5 separate regions of the Homo sapiens genome follow, and all the other regions are linked to region 3. The links are contacts of gene promoters, found by promoter capture Hi-C in blood cells and fetal thymus (Javierre and others, 2016). All regions are on one chromosome and are shown on one strand. Each heading gives the region's core, a stretch centred on a gene start or on the middle of the fragment in contact. The rest is flanking DNA. Distances are from core to core; before and after follow the strand shown.

The links. Contacts are between HindIII fragments. The CHiCAGO score rates a contact against its expected background, and 5 or more counts as called.
Region 1: a fragment that was not itself captured here is called in contact with the fragment with the promoter of GMPR in region 3 in 14 of 17 cell types (naive CD4 T cells, total CD8 T cells, total B cells and 11 more); the score reaches 13.9 in naive CD4 T cells.
Region 2: a contact is called between a fragment that was not itself captured here and the fragment with the promoter of GMPR in region 3, in 2 of 17 cell types (total B cells and naive CD4 T cells). The highest score is 5.8, in total B cells.
Region 4: a fragment that was not itself captured here is called in contact with the fragment with the promoter of GMPR in region 3 in 1 of 17 cell types (naive CD4 T cells); the score reaches 5.1 in naive CD4 T cells.
Region 5: a contact is called between a fragment that was not itself captured here and the fragment with the promoter of GMPR in region 3, in 1 of 17 cell types (naive CD8 T cells). The highest score is 6.2, in naive CD8 T cells.

The regions. Positions count from the first base shown.
Region 1 is chr6:15,681,096-15,683,795 of GRCh38, forward strand. No RefSeq gene overlaps it. Among named protein-coding and RNA genes, the nearest start is that of DTNBP1, 19 kb to the left of the region's middle. The HindIII fragment of the contact is 472 bases long and covers 1,146-1,617 here.
Region 2 is chr6:15,717,056-15,719,755 of GRCh38, forward strand. No RefSeq gene overlaps it. Among named protein-coding and RNA genes, the nearest start is that of DTNBP1, 55 kb to the left of the region's middle. The HindIII fragment of the contact is 1,392 bases long and covers 605-1,996 here.
Region 3 is chr6:16,237,303-16,240,002 of GRCh38, forward strand. GMPR (guanosine monophosphate reductase) reads left to right here and starts at 1,285. Exons shown (of 9, transcript NM_006877.4): 1 at 1,285-1,478. The coding sequence starts at 1,392. RefSeq lists silencers at 1,068-1,167, 1,288-1,387. The HindIII fragment of the contact is 2,876 bases long and covers 1-2,076 here.
Region 4 is chr6:15,647,583-15,650,358 of GRCh38, forward strand. The region is part of intron 3 of DTNBP1 (dystrobrevin binding protein 1); the gene reads right to left. Among named protein-coding and RNA genes, the nearest start is that of DTNBP1, 14 kb to the right of the region's middle. The HindIII fragment of the contact is 1,313 bases long and covers 720-2,032 here.
Region 5 is chr6:15,664,924-15,667,656 of GRCh38, forward strand. No RefSeq gene overlaps it. Among named protein-coding and RNA genes, the nearest start is that of DTNBP1, 3.3 kb to the left of the region's middle. The HindIII fragment of the contact is 444 bases long and covers 1,160-1,603 here.

The sequences.
Region 1 (2,700 bases), core at 132-2,631, 560 kb before region 3:
TTGAACTTGGGAGGTGGAGGTTGCAGTGAGCCGAGATTGTGCCACCGCACTCCAGTCTGGGCAACAGAGCAAGACTCAAAAAAAAAAAAAAAGAAAAAAGAAAGTACTTGTAGGGCTGTTGTAAATATTAATGTGCAATCAATGATCTTTAAGTGCTTTGGAGAATTGTTCCATATAATAACAAAGTATTTATCATTATATACAGAAAGAGTGCTTATATGGTGTGAGAGGTTTCTTTTTTTTGAGACGGAGTCTTGCTCTGTCACCCAGGCTGGAATTCAGTAGTGCGATCTCGGCTCCCTGCAACCTCTGTCTCCTGGGTTCAAGCGATTCTCCTGCCTCAGCCTCCAGAGTAGCTGGGATTACAGGTACTTGCCACTACACCCAGCTAATTTTTGCATTTTTAGTAGAGACAAGGTTTCACCATGTTGGCCAGCCTGGTCTTGAACTCCTGACCTCAGGTGATCCGCCCACCTCGGCCTCCCAAAGTGCTGGGATTACAGGCTTGAGTCACTGTGCCCAGCCGAGAGATTTCTTATGAAACAGTCCACTGAGGCCTGCAGTATTGTTACAATCATATTGTCCAGTCACATTTGACACAGGGCCACAACCTTCTGAGAAAAGGGTTTCATTAAAAAGAGTAAATGACTTTCTTTTAATTTCCAACTTTTAAGTTCGGAGTACTTATAAAGGATGTTCAGGTTTGTTACATGGGTAAACGTGTGCCATGGTGGTTTGCTGCACAGATCATTCCATTGAGGAAATGACTTTCATGTGGGCACACATTTTGTGGTCATACTGTTTGCTGTTGGGAATCAGGTTTTTTTGCTCAAACTGGTAAACTTACTGAGGCTTGTTCTCTGCTTGGATGAAAGGACAGAATGAAAGATAGCTTTAATTTTATTCACCTATGTTAGGGAAGACTTTCAACCTTTTTGCTGAGTTGTAGAGTTCTGGTTCAATCTTAGAGAAAGGCAGCATGGTGGAGTGGGGCTTGGAGCCAAGGTGACTTGAATTTCCCACAGGCTCCATCACCTTTCAGCTGTGTGGCCTCAGGCAAGTCAATGAACCATTCTGAGCCTGTTTCTTCAACTGTAAAATAGAGATAATAACACAGCATCTTGCAGGAGTTGTGTGAAGATGAAAGCTTTAGGTACATGAAGATACAAAATACAGAAGAGTTTGGCACATGATAGGCCCTCGTAAATGTTCAGGAGTATACAGAATAGTTATGTATAAATATTGTTTATGAAATTAAAAAATCAGAAGATAAATTATGCTAATGCTAACCCGCCCACATTATGGATGATTAGTTTGGATTCAGGATCAGATTTGGAACATCTTTTGAAACATATGCAGGGCAGAGAAATTAACATTTAAATGCCTGGAGAACCTTACATTTTCTCATTCCTGACTTCTGGTATAAAATTTGCAATACAGCGTAAGTTTTTGGTATGCTCCCTTTTCTTTTGGACTTACTTACTTTTAATGAACAAACAAAACCACAGCATCATCTACAGTATTGGAAATTACAGCTACTAGGAGATGGAGCAATAAAAATGAGCCATAAACTCTAGTTAGCAGAGGGAAGCCCAAATCCAGGAGCTGACATAGTGAAGCTTCTAAAGACGACATAGGTGACTGATGCTGCTGCAATGTGATTAAATGGTTAAATGGTTATTTAGTCTGAAGGAAGTGGGCATCAGCCAAAAAGGAAGGATGGCATAGTTGTCTCACGCATTTGCTAAATCAAAATTAGAGAAATTATCTAGGGCATTCAGCTATTCTCTTGAGAACATAGCTATTTCTTAATTACCTAACTAGAAAACTCATGTTCCTCTGGAGAATTCTTAAGAAACTTTACAGAGAGTTTATGTGAACTGCAGCCTCTGGGGGCAAATGCCCCAGAGTGATTCTCTCACTTGAAATGAGTTCTCAGGTTCTGATGCAGCCAATCATCCCCTTGCAGCTTTTCCCTCCTTCCTGTCCCTTTCTACTACCACTAATCTAAGCAACTTCCCAGTTGGCCCCTGCCCCCAGCCTCTCCAATGTTACCTTCATGAAGCACAGTTCTAATCAAATCAGTCTGGCTCAGACACTTTTAGCAGCTCCACCACGCCCCACATGACGAAGTGCAAACTCCTTCAAAGGATATTTAAGGTCTTCCACGATCTGACCTCAACTTACGTTGAAACCTCATCTCATAGGTCTCCTTTATCACAGCCCTTATTCTTATCCTCATTACTAACCTCATGCATTCATTCAACAAACATTTTTAAAGTGCCACAAATCCAGCATCGTGATAGAGGATGAGCAAGACACAGCCTCTGCTCCAGGGAGCTCAGAGTCTGGTGATGGGTTGGACAAGCAAAAGAGTGTTACTGAATAAGGCGCCGTTATATTTATTTGCTGAACATCCAATGAATATTTAACAAGTACCTTTGATGTGTCAGTAACACACAAGCACACAGGGCAGGGGTGTCTAACTTTTCTTAGAGTCAGTGAAAGCTTAAAAGAGGAAGTGGCATTAACTGAATCTGGAGAGAATTTCAATCAGGGACAAAGTCCACATACAGGAAAAAAGGGCTTGAGGGAGCAAAGCACACATGATCTTGCTGAATGGTTCTTGTGGCTACAGCATGGCTGTAATATCATTTGAAGAAAACCTCTCTTCCTGGCCCTAATCCTGAGCATGTGCCC
Region 2 (2,700 bases), core at 51-2,550, 520 kb before region 3:
TGTATCCAGTTAAAAATATTAGACTCCCTTGCAGCTAGGAATCAACAAGTATCAAAGTCTGGTTACTGTGACATGCTCTCTAGATTTCTGGAAAAGGTGCCACCTCTTCCTATCTCCCTCCCTTCTCCTATCTGGAGCTGGGGTAGCCATCCTGTGCCCATGAACCCAAAGAAATCAGCTGAGCACAGATCATAAGTGCAGGATGGTAGAGCAGAAAGATAGAAGGATCCTGACACACTGTTGCAATCTACCTCCAGACTCCTTAGTATGTGACAAAAATCAACCTCTATTTGGTTAAACTATTATGGTTGGATTTGTTGCTCCTTATACAAAGGTATTATATGGACTCATTTATCGGGTGACCAGCAAGGCTGTTAGCTTTGAGTGGGGCCCACAGCAAATCTCTCCAACTTGTCAAGGCATTGATACAAAGCGGTTTTGCCCCTTGCCCCTTATTACCAGAGGATCCAATGATGCTCAAAGTGCTTGTGGCAGAAAATATATCGTATGGACCCTTTGGAAAAGTCTGGTAGGAAAATTACAGGGAAGGTCCTTTGGGTTTTAAAGTCACATCCCACTGGACAAGTTATAATTCTTGAGAAAAAGCTTGTAACTTGATAATGAATTCTGTTTCTGGGCTCTGTTCCATTAGTCTGTCTATCTCTAAGCCAATACTATACTCTCTTGGTTTTATACATTTATAAATTCTTGCTATCTGGTGGAGCTATCCTTTCACTTTGTTCTTCAAGAGGATTTTAACTATCTTGGCCATTTGTGTTTTTACTTAAATTTTAGAATCAACTTGTTGAGTTTCATAAAAAAAAGATCTGTTGGAGTTTTGACTGAGATTGCACCAAATCTATTAAACTGGGGAGAACTGGCATGTGTATTCCAATCTATGAGAATACCTTGTCTCTCTATTTGTGTAGTCTTTAAGTTCTCTAAAAGATGTTATAGTTTTCTCCATAATCTTATATATTTTCTGGTAGATTACTCCTTGACATCTACTATTTTTAATGCTACTACAAATAAGAAATTAAAAATTGTTTATTTTCTAATTATTTGGTGGCTGGTATTCAGAAATAAGATTCATTATACAGACAGTAATTTTGTGTAAAGCAAATTTGCTAAACTCTCTAATTCTTATAATTTCTCTGGATTCTTTCAATTTCTCTAGACATAATTTTCTTATCTGAAAAATAATGAAAGTCTTTTCTGACAATTCTTAAAACTTTCCCTTATAAATTAGCTGGGTGTGGTGGCGGGTGCCTGTAGTCCCAGCTACTCAAAAGGTTGAGGCAGGAGAATTCTTGAACCCGGGAGGCGGAGGTTGCAGTAAGCCGAGATTGCACCACTGCACTCTAGCCTGGGCGGTAGAGTGAGACTCCGTCTCTAAACAAAAAACAAAAACAAAATCAAAACCAAAAAACAAAACAAAAAAATCTTCCCTTATTTAACCTGCTCTTACTAGGAACTAGATTAATGCTAATTAGAGAAGTTTTACCAGAAATCTTTGTTTTGTTTTTGATCTCGAAGGGAATGCTTTCAAAATTTTACCATTAAATATGAGGTTTTCTTTGTTTCCCTATATACTAAGAAGAGGTGTGTGTGTGCATGTGTGTGTGTGTTTGCATGTACATGTGTATTTAAATGTAATAGATGTTGCCCGATTGCTTTCCCAAAAAGCCGAAATAATTAACATTTCTATCAATTAGCATTTTTGCCAGTGATAGGCATTATAATTCTTTAAAACATTTGCCATTCTGTTGGGAATAAAAGATACCTTATAATTTTATTTTAATTTGCATTTTCTCAACTGCTAGCAAGTTTGATCTTCTCATACGTTGCTGACCATTTGAATTTGTCCTCTTATGAACAGTCTCTTCATGTCCTTTGCCAAAGTTTTTGTTTGTTTATTCCTTACTTTTAATTTGAAAGAAACTTTTGCATGGTATAACTAACCTCATATGTCCTCTGAATTGCAAGTACTTGTCCAAGCTTATAACTCTTTAAGGTTTTTTTTTTTTTTTTTGAGATGGAGTTTCACTCTTGTTGCCCAGGCTGCGGTGCAATGGCATGATCTCGGCTCACTGCAACTTCTGCCTCCAGGGTTCAAGTGATTCTTTTGCCTCAGCCTCCCGAGTAGCTGCGATTACAGACGTACGCTACCACGTCCAGCTAATTTTGTATTTTTAATAGAGACAGGGTTTCTCCATGTTGGTCAGGCTGGTCTCGAACTCCTGACCTCAGGTGATCCACCCGGCTCAGCCTCCCAAAGTGCTGGGATTACAGGCGTGAGCCACTGTGCCCGACTCTTATGTTTTTAAGCTATAAAATTGTTTTAAATTTATGATAAAATCTCTATTTTTTATTTTGTGTCATCTGTTTTTCCAATCTTGTCCACATATTGTCTCCTAAATTTTCTTGCAGAATTTTAAGTTGTTAATATTCTACATTTAAGTCTTTTAGCCATTTAGCCTGAAATTTGTCTTCATATATGGTAAAACAAAGAGATCTAATTTAATTTTCTTCCACTTAGATTATTTGTATCACCACCATTTATTAAATAATGCATTATTTTCCCACTTAGATAAAATGCCATCCTTATCATATATTAAATTCTCATATGTAATTGGATTTAAATTTCAGGTTGTCCTGTTACATTTTGTGTTCAATGCCAATAAAATGTTTATTAAAGCA
Region 3 (2,700 bases), core at 35-2,534:
TGTTCCAGGACAAAAGCAGCTTCAGTGAATAGTTGTAGCAAGTTTTAAGGACTGAGAAATTTATATTGAATTTTTCTGCGGCCTTAGGCAAGTTATTTCATTTATAGAAGCCTCGTTTTTCCTTATCTGTGAAATGGCTCTTTCTTCATTGGGTTGTTCTGAGAGTGAATGAGATGATGCATGAAGCCCGGCAGCACATTTCAAATGTATAATAAAAGGTCGGTAAGGTCAATAAGTGAATCAATGAACTCACATCACTGGTAACCCCTCGAACTCACATCACTGGTAACCCTCAGAGGGGACTCAGGCTCCTCAAATCTCAGGATCTGCGTCGACTACAGACCTCACTGTTTTTCTTAAACAAAAATCCTGAAATCCAGGCTGGGCGCAGTGGCTCACGCCAGTAGTCCCAACACTGGGAAGCTGAGGCGGGAGGATTGCTTGAACCCAGTAGTTCAAGACCAGCCTGGGCAACACAGTGAGACCTTGTCTCTTAACAACAAGTCCAAAGGGAATCATGGCCTCCACAATCCCAGTACAGCTAAACAGTTAACTGCCCACGTTCTTTTCCTTAATTCTATACAACCTCCCTGGGGTTTCTGGTTCTTTGGCAAGTGAGAGACGTGCTCCTCAACACTGGGTGAGCACACCGGGCTTGAATTTTAAAAAAGGAGAATCCGCCGGGCACGGTGGCTCACGCCTGTAATCCCAGCACTTTGGGAGGCCGAGGCAGGCGGATCACTTGAGGTCAGGGGCTCGAGACCAGCTTGGGCAATATGGTGAAACCCCGCCTCTAGGAAATAATTTTTAAAATAAGCTGGGTGTGGCGGCGTGCGCCTGTACTCGAGGAGGCTGAGGCATGAGAATCGTTTGAGCCCAGGAAGTCGAGGCTGCGATGAGCGGCGATAGCGCCACTCACTCCAGCCTGAGCGACAGTGAGACTGTCTCAAAAAAAAAAAAAAAAAAGTAAAAGCTCTCAGGGAGCGACTTTTCCCTTGGATAAGGCAGCCACACGCTAAGTCCCCTCTCCATCGGGGACCCTGGGGACAAACAGAACGGTGCGCATTTCCCTCCCCCGTCCCCATTCGGTCACTGCCACGGGCTGTACACCTGAGGGGGAAGGACGGGGGCGGCGGCGCGAGGAGGAAGGGCTTCGCCGCCAATCTGTCCCTAACCAGTCTGCCTCTCAACCCCTGCCTGAGGCGGAGGCGGTGCCCGGGGCGGGCCAAGCGTGACCGCGGGTCGGCGGGGCGTGTTTAAGACCGCGGCGTGCGCACCCGGCCCACGCCAGCTCCCGGCCGCGGCACAGCAGCCCCGGCGCTCCCCGCGCCGCCCCGCGCAGGCGCCCCCGCCCCGCCGTCGCCGCCGCCGCAGCCAGGAGCCGCTGCACCATGCCCCGCATAGATGCGGACCTCAAGCTCGACTTCAAGGATGTCCTGCTCCGACCTAAGCGGAGCAGCCTCAAGAGCCGAGCCGAGGTGGGGGACGTTCGGAAGTCGCAGTGGGGTGGGATTTTTTTTTCCGGGTGGCGCGGGGCAAGTGGGTGGAAGGGGGTGGCACCGGGTTACCCTGCCTGCTTTGGTGTTTGAGACTGGGGCGCTGCGCCCCCGTTCCCGCGCCCCAGCACCTGCCAGGACGTGAGGTGTCTTTAAGGGCGGTGATACGGGGGCCCATGAAATTCTCTACACGTCGGTCCCGTTGGGTGGCCTAGGGGAAGTTCACAGTGAAACTCGACCACAGATGAGCGAGATCCAGTGGCCAGTTGGTTTAGAAGGAATAGGGGTACGAGGGCGCTTATAGCAAGAAAAGGAAACTGGAGCTAGGGGAGAGAGGACGAGAAAAACAACTGCAGATCCCGGTGATTTTTGGCTGCGTCTCCTAGTGCTGATAATTGCTGCTGCTTTCGCTTCGGGTCCAGCGGTGGAACTTCGTGAACGCGTCTGAAAAACCAGAACCCAGGGCACAAGTTCAGGGTTTCCTTTCTGAGTTTGGCGGCCTTGCTGGCAGTGGGGCTTGGGGACTCAGCGGTACTGGACAGCCCGCGGTCCCAGCCTAGCCCTGGAGAAGAGTTTCGAAAGCTTTGGGGTGAGAGAGGTGGGGGCGAATTGGAAGCCTCGGGCATTTCCCTGGTTCTGCCTGGATGTCCTCAAATCCTAAGGAACAGGTGGAGACCGGACTGGAAATAGCCTGAGGCTGGGGGAAGGGAGGCCAGTCCCTGAAGGATAAACTAGTTGCCTGAAAGGCAGAGTGCCCCGGGGTGGTGTGCGCTGGTGACTGGCTTTGCTGAGAGCTGGAGAGGAAGGTGAGGAAACCGGACACGGTTGAAGGCTGGGGCTGAAGGAGTAAACACGAGGAGGCTGGGCCAACCTGCACAGCTCCGTCCACTCAGCTCCACAAACAAGACCATAAATAAATCCCCTCAGCAAAGAAGTCCGCTGCCCACTCCGGTGCCAGGCCTAACTGCAGTGCCTGGGGCTGCCAGCCGAGGGCTTGCTTGGATTGGGGAAGCCTCCGCGTTAGCCAATGACTAAACCAAGTGGCCTTCTGTAAGCAGCAGCATTGGCTGGTTTGGAGCCCGGCAGGACTGGAGGACGTAGGGGAGGAATGATTAAAACTTATCGCCCCAGATTGGGTGACCCTGTGCCTGTCCCTCATGACCTTTCAGGTGCTAAAGAGGGGGCCTCTCTTGGAACAAAAACA
Region 4 (2,776 bases), core at 126-2,625, 590 kb before region 3:
TTACTAAAACCATAATGAAGTGGGACTATTACTACGAATCTTACAGAAATAAAAAGGATTATGAGAGAGTGCTATGAACAATGTATGCTAACAAACTGTATAACCTAGCTGAAGTGGACAAATTCCCACAAACACAAAACATACCAAGACTGAATCCTGAAGAAATGGGAAACTGAATCAGTAATAAAAAACCTCAAGATGAAATACCCTGGACTTGATTGCTTCACTGGTGAATTCTACCAAACATTTAAAAAAGAACCAACATTGACCATTCTCAAAATCTTTTTAAAAAGAAAATGAAGAGGAAGGAATAAATCCTAACTCATTCTACAAGCCAGCATTACCCTGATACCAAAGCCAAAGGCATACAAGAAAAGGAAACTACAGACCAATACCCCTTATGAATACTAATGCAAAAATCCTCAACAAAATACTGGCAAACTAAATTCTGCACTGTGTTAAAAGCATTATACACAATTTCCAAGAGGGATTTATTCCTGGAATGCAAGAATGGCTCAACATATGAAAATCTGTCAATGTAATAATATGACAGATTGGTAGAACGAAAGGAAAAAACACATGGTCATCCTAATTCATGGAGAAAAGTTATTTGACAAAATTCAACATCCTTTCATGATAAAAACACTAAAGTAGAAGGGAACAATCTCAACATAATAAAAATTCATAGTTGACATTATACTCAATGTTGAAAGACTGAAAGCTTTTCCTGTAAGATCAGGATCAAGACAAGGAACAAGACAAGGATGCCTGCTTTTTCCACTTCGATTCAACACAGTACTGGATGGTCTAGCCAGAGCAATTAGGCAAGAAAAAAGAAATAAAAGGTATTCAAATTGGAATGAATGAAGCAAAATGATTTCTATTCATAAATGATATGATCTTATATGCAGAAAACCCTGAAAGTTCCACACAAAAAACTATCAGGATAAAGGAACTCAGCAAAGTATGATATTAAATCAACACACAACAATTAAGTCAGTTGTTTCTATATACTACCAATAAATAATTCAAAAAAAGCAATTAAGAAAACAATTTCATAAATGATAGCATCAAAAAATACTTAGGAATTAACAAAGATGATGAAAGACTCATACAATGAAAACTACTAAACAATACTGAAAGAAATTAAAGAAGACATCAATAAATAGAAAAAGCACTCCATGTTAATGGATTGGAATACTTAACATTGTTATCTGTAATAAGCAAAATGACCAGATTCAATTTAATCCCAATCAAAACCCCAATGACATTCTTTGCAAACAATAGAAAATACATCTTAAAATTCATATGAAATCTCAAATGACCTTCAACAGCCAAAACAATCTTGACAAGAAAAACTCTTAGAAGAAAACACAGGGGAAAATCCTCATACTCATTAGAGTAGCTATAATAAAAAACAAGAAAATAGCGAGCGTTGGTGAGGATAGGAAGAAATTAGAACCTTTATACAATACTGATGGGAAAGTAAAATGATACAGTCACTATGGAAAACAGTATGGTGTTTCCAGAAAGAATAAAACACAGAATTACCGTATGATCCAGTAATTCTACTGCTGGGTATATACCCAAAGGAACTGAAAGCAAGGTGTCAAAAAGGTACTTGTCACTCATGTTCCTAGCAGCAAGCAGTATTTAGAACAGCCAAAAAGTGGAAGCAACTCAAGTGTCCATCAACAGATGAATAAACAAAATATGGTACATACTTACAATAGAATATTCAGCTTTTCAAAGAAAGAAAATTCTGACACATGCTGCAACATAAACTTTGAAAACATTATGCTAAATGAAATAAGCCGGTCACACACAAAAGTACTTTATAATTGCACTTATATGATGTTCCTAGAATAGTCAAATTCACAGAGAAAGCAAATAGAATGATGGTTGCCTGGGATGGAGAGGAGGGAGTAGAAATGAGAGTTGTTGGTTAACAGGTACAGAGTTTCCATTTTGCAAGATGAAAAGAGTTTTTGGGATTGGATGCACAACCATGTGAACGTACTCAGCACTACTAAGCTTAAGAATGGTTAAGATACATTTTATGCTATGTATATTACATTTTTAAAATTAAAAATATGATTTAAACATTTGCTATTTAAAATGGTCTTTCTCACATTCAATTTTAGTTCCAATGGGAAAAGACTGTTTCAGTGCGATGTATAAACACATTATTGACACCGTCTTACGGATGTAAATTTTCTATATTAACTCCTAAAATGCAACCCTATCCCCAAAAAATGTACCACACAAAAAGTTGATAGCTCTAACATAAATTTTTCAGTAAAATGAAGTTATTTCAACTAAGTTTCTAGAGAAAAAATAAAGATAAAATGTAAATAGTAAACAATACATTACTGATTAATTTGTACTACACTTCCTTTCATGTTCATTTCTGTTCTTCACACAACAAAACAAAGGAAGCAAATATCATATTAAGCACTTTTCACTTCAGAGAAGAAAAATCTCTAGATTTAGCAACCATAAAAAGAAACCTAATGAAGAACTAGAAAGGAGAAAGGAAAATGTAGGTATCAGTGATTGTGTCATAACAAATACAGATAAGGAAAAGCAGCATACCCTCTCCCACATACATCTTTACCACACATCTGTCAAATGGCACATTAGTAAGCACAGAAATATGTATAATGACATACTTTAACCATATACTGTATTTATTTATTTATTTTTTGAGATGGAGTTTCGCTCTTGTTGCCCAGGCTGGAGTGCACTGGCACGATCTCGGCTCACCGCAACCCCT
Region 5 (2,733 bases), core at 132-2,631, 570 kb before region 3:
GTTAGGGCTGGGATTGGATGAGGCCAGTGAGGTAAGTAGCACAAGTACAGGCCCAGATGTAAACTGCTCTGTCTTATTAAGCTTTGCATCCCCAGCAATGAAAACAGTGAATGGCACATAACAGACACCCAGTAAATGTCTTGTTGCAGGAGTTAAATAAGATAAAGGACTTAGCTTGTAGCTGGGGGACCACCTCTTCCCCACTCTTGATGTTTTCTTCCATGGGAAGGGAGCTCTTCTGCTAACATAAAGAAGTACCCAGCCTCTCCTGGTGGGGAAGAGGTGACTACGATGATTAGTGAGCTAGAAGTAAGGAGCTTGGTCTCATCTTCTTTTCTTTTTGTTGAGTGAACACTTCCAACAAAGAGCATTCATTCTGCTGCCTAAAGACAGGCTTGAAGGGCAACCCAGTGCTTTTTGTGACTGGGTACTAGAAGTTCTGCTTGCCCATGAATATAAGCCATGTGTTCCATCAGTCTTCCTAGATATAAAAGTGATATTTTGGCCTCTTTATGCTGACACTATTGTTTTATTTCTCAGTTTGCTCAGACAAGTAAGAAAGAGGAGTGCTGTTTATTGAGCCTTCTTCTACCTCTCAGAAACAGTGCCTGGAACAAAGCAAGTGATCAAATGATCAAATCTACAGACAGGTCCCTTAGTATCTAGTAGATTTGAAAACCACAAGTACTGGGAAATATTAAATTTTTTTCTTTTATTCAATTAAACTCTACACATAAGCTTTCAATTTACTAAGTTTCATACATTCCAACAAAGCACCAAATCCACTCAAAAAAGACTCTTGCCTGTCACTAAAAAATAGCTTTACTGGTTGTGCCTGATCATTTCTGTCTTGACCAATGCACTGTTTATTAGTCTATGGCATGTTTGTATTTGAGGTGCTTTCTGAACATTCTTAATTCCATCATATCTATTAAATTAAAAAACAGTGAAAGTTTTAAAAGTGCTAATAAAAAGATAATTTATGATTTAAAGAAGTAAATATTAAAAAAATTAGAAAATAACTACTGTTGTACATGAGTTGCTCAGGAGGAATGATTAAGGACCAAGAGTTGAAGCATGTGACATGTCGTGTTTACATAAGTAACAGTAATCAGCCAGAAACTAGGAAGATGGATTGGCAAAATGAAAAAAAAAACAAAGCTTTTAAGTACAGTTTGAGAACCAACATCAGTATGGAAGCTATTGACCTAATCTTAATTCAGGAATTGGTTGAGAGTTGATTGTTGTTTGTTTGGGGTTTTTTTGTTTGTTTTGTTTTAAGACGGAGTCTCCCTCTGTCACCTAGGCTGGAGTGCAGTGGTGCAATCTTGGCTCACTGTAGCCTCCACCTCCTGGGTTCAAGTGATTCTCCTGCCTCAGCCTCCTGGGTAGCTGGGATTACAGGCTTCCGCCACCACGCCCAGCTAATTTTTGTATTTTTAGTAGAGACAAGGTTTCACTATGTTGGACAGGCTGGTCTCAAACTCCTGACCTCAAGTGATCCGCCTGCCTTGGCCTCCCAAAATGCTGGGATTACAGGCATGAGCCACCGCGCCCAGCAGAGAGTTGATTTTTTGAGAGCATATTAGTTGCGCCCAGGAAAAGCTTTGGTGATACAACGTTTGGGGTGAGCACCAAAGCTGCTAAGAAGTTTCCTGAAATAGTGCTTCCCTGACCAGCAGCAGCCGCATCATCTGGGAGCTTCCTGCAAAGGTAGAATCGTAGGCCCCAGCCAGCCCTACTGAATCAGAATCTGAGTTTTATTAAGACCCCCCGGGTGATTTTTATTCATGTTAACATTTGAGAAGCCCTACTCGTTGATGAAAGGGGGTTTCCTGTCTCAGCAGATTCTTATTGGAGACAAAGTGATAAATGAGGATTTGGCGGAGTTAGAACCAAAGAGAAAGATGCTATTAAAGAAGGGGTGGTACGAAAGAAACCACCATCAGAGCGAACAGGCAACCTACAGAATGGGAGAAAATTTTTGCAATCTACTCATCGGACAAAGGGCTAATATCCAGAATCTACAATGAACTCAAACAAATTTACAAGAAAAAAACAACCCCATCAACAAGTGGGCAAAGGATGTGAACAGACACTTCTCAAAAGAAGACATTTATGCAGCCAAAAGACACATGAAAAAATGCTCATCATCGCTGACCATCAGAGAAATGCAAATCAAAACCACAATGAGATACCATCTCACACCAGTTAGAATGGCGATCACTAAAAAGTCAGGAAACAACAGGTGCTGGAGAGAATGTGGAGAAATAGGAACACTTTTACACTGTTGGTGGGACTGTAAACTAGTTCAACCATTGTGGAAGTCAGTGTGGCGATTCCTCAGGGATCTAGAACTAGAAATACCATTTGACCCAGCCATCCCATTACTGGGTATATACCCAAAGGACTGTAAATCATGCTGCTATAAAGACACATGAACACATATGTTTATTGTGGCACTATTCGCAATAGCAAAGACTTGGAACCAACCCAAATGTCCAACAATGATAGACTGGATTAAGAAAACGTGGCACATATACACCATGGAATACTATGCAGTGAAAAAAATGATGAGTTCATGTCCTTTGTAGGGACATGGATGAAGCTGGAAACCATTATTCTCGGCAAACTATCGCAAGGACAAAAAACCAAACACCGCATGTTCTCACTCATTGGTGGGAATTGAACAGTGAGAACACATGGACACAGGAAGGGGAACATCATACACTG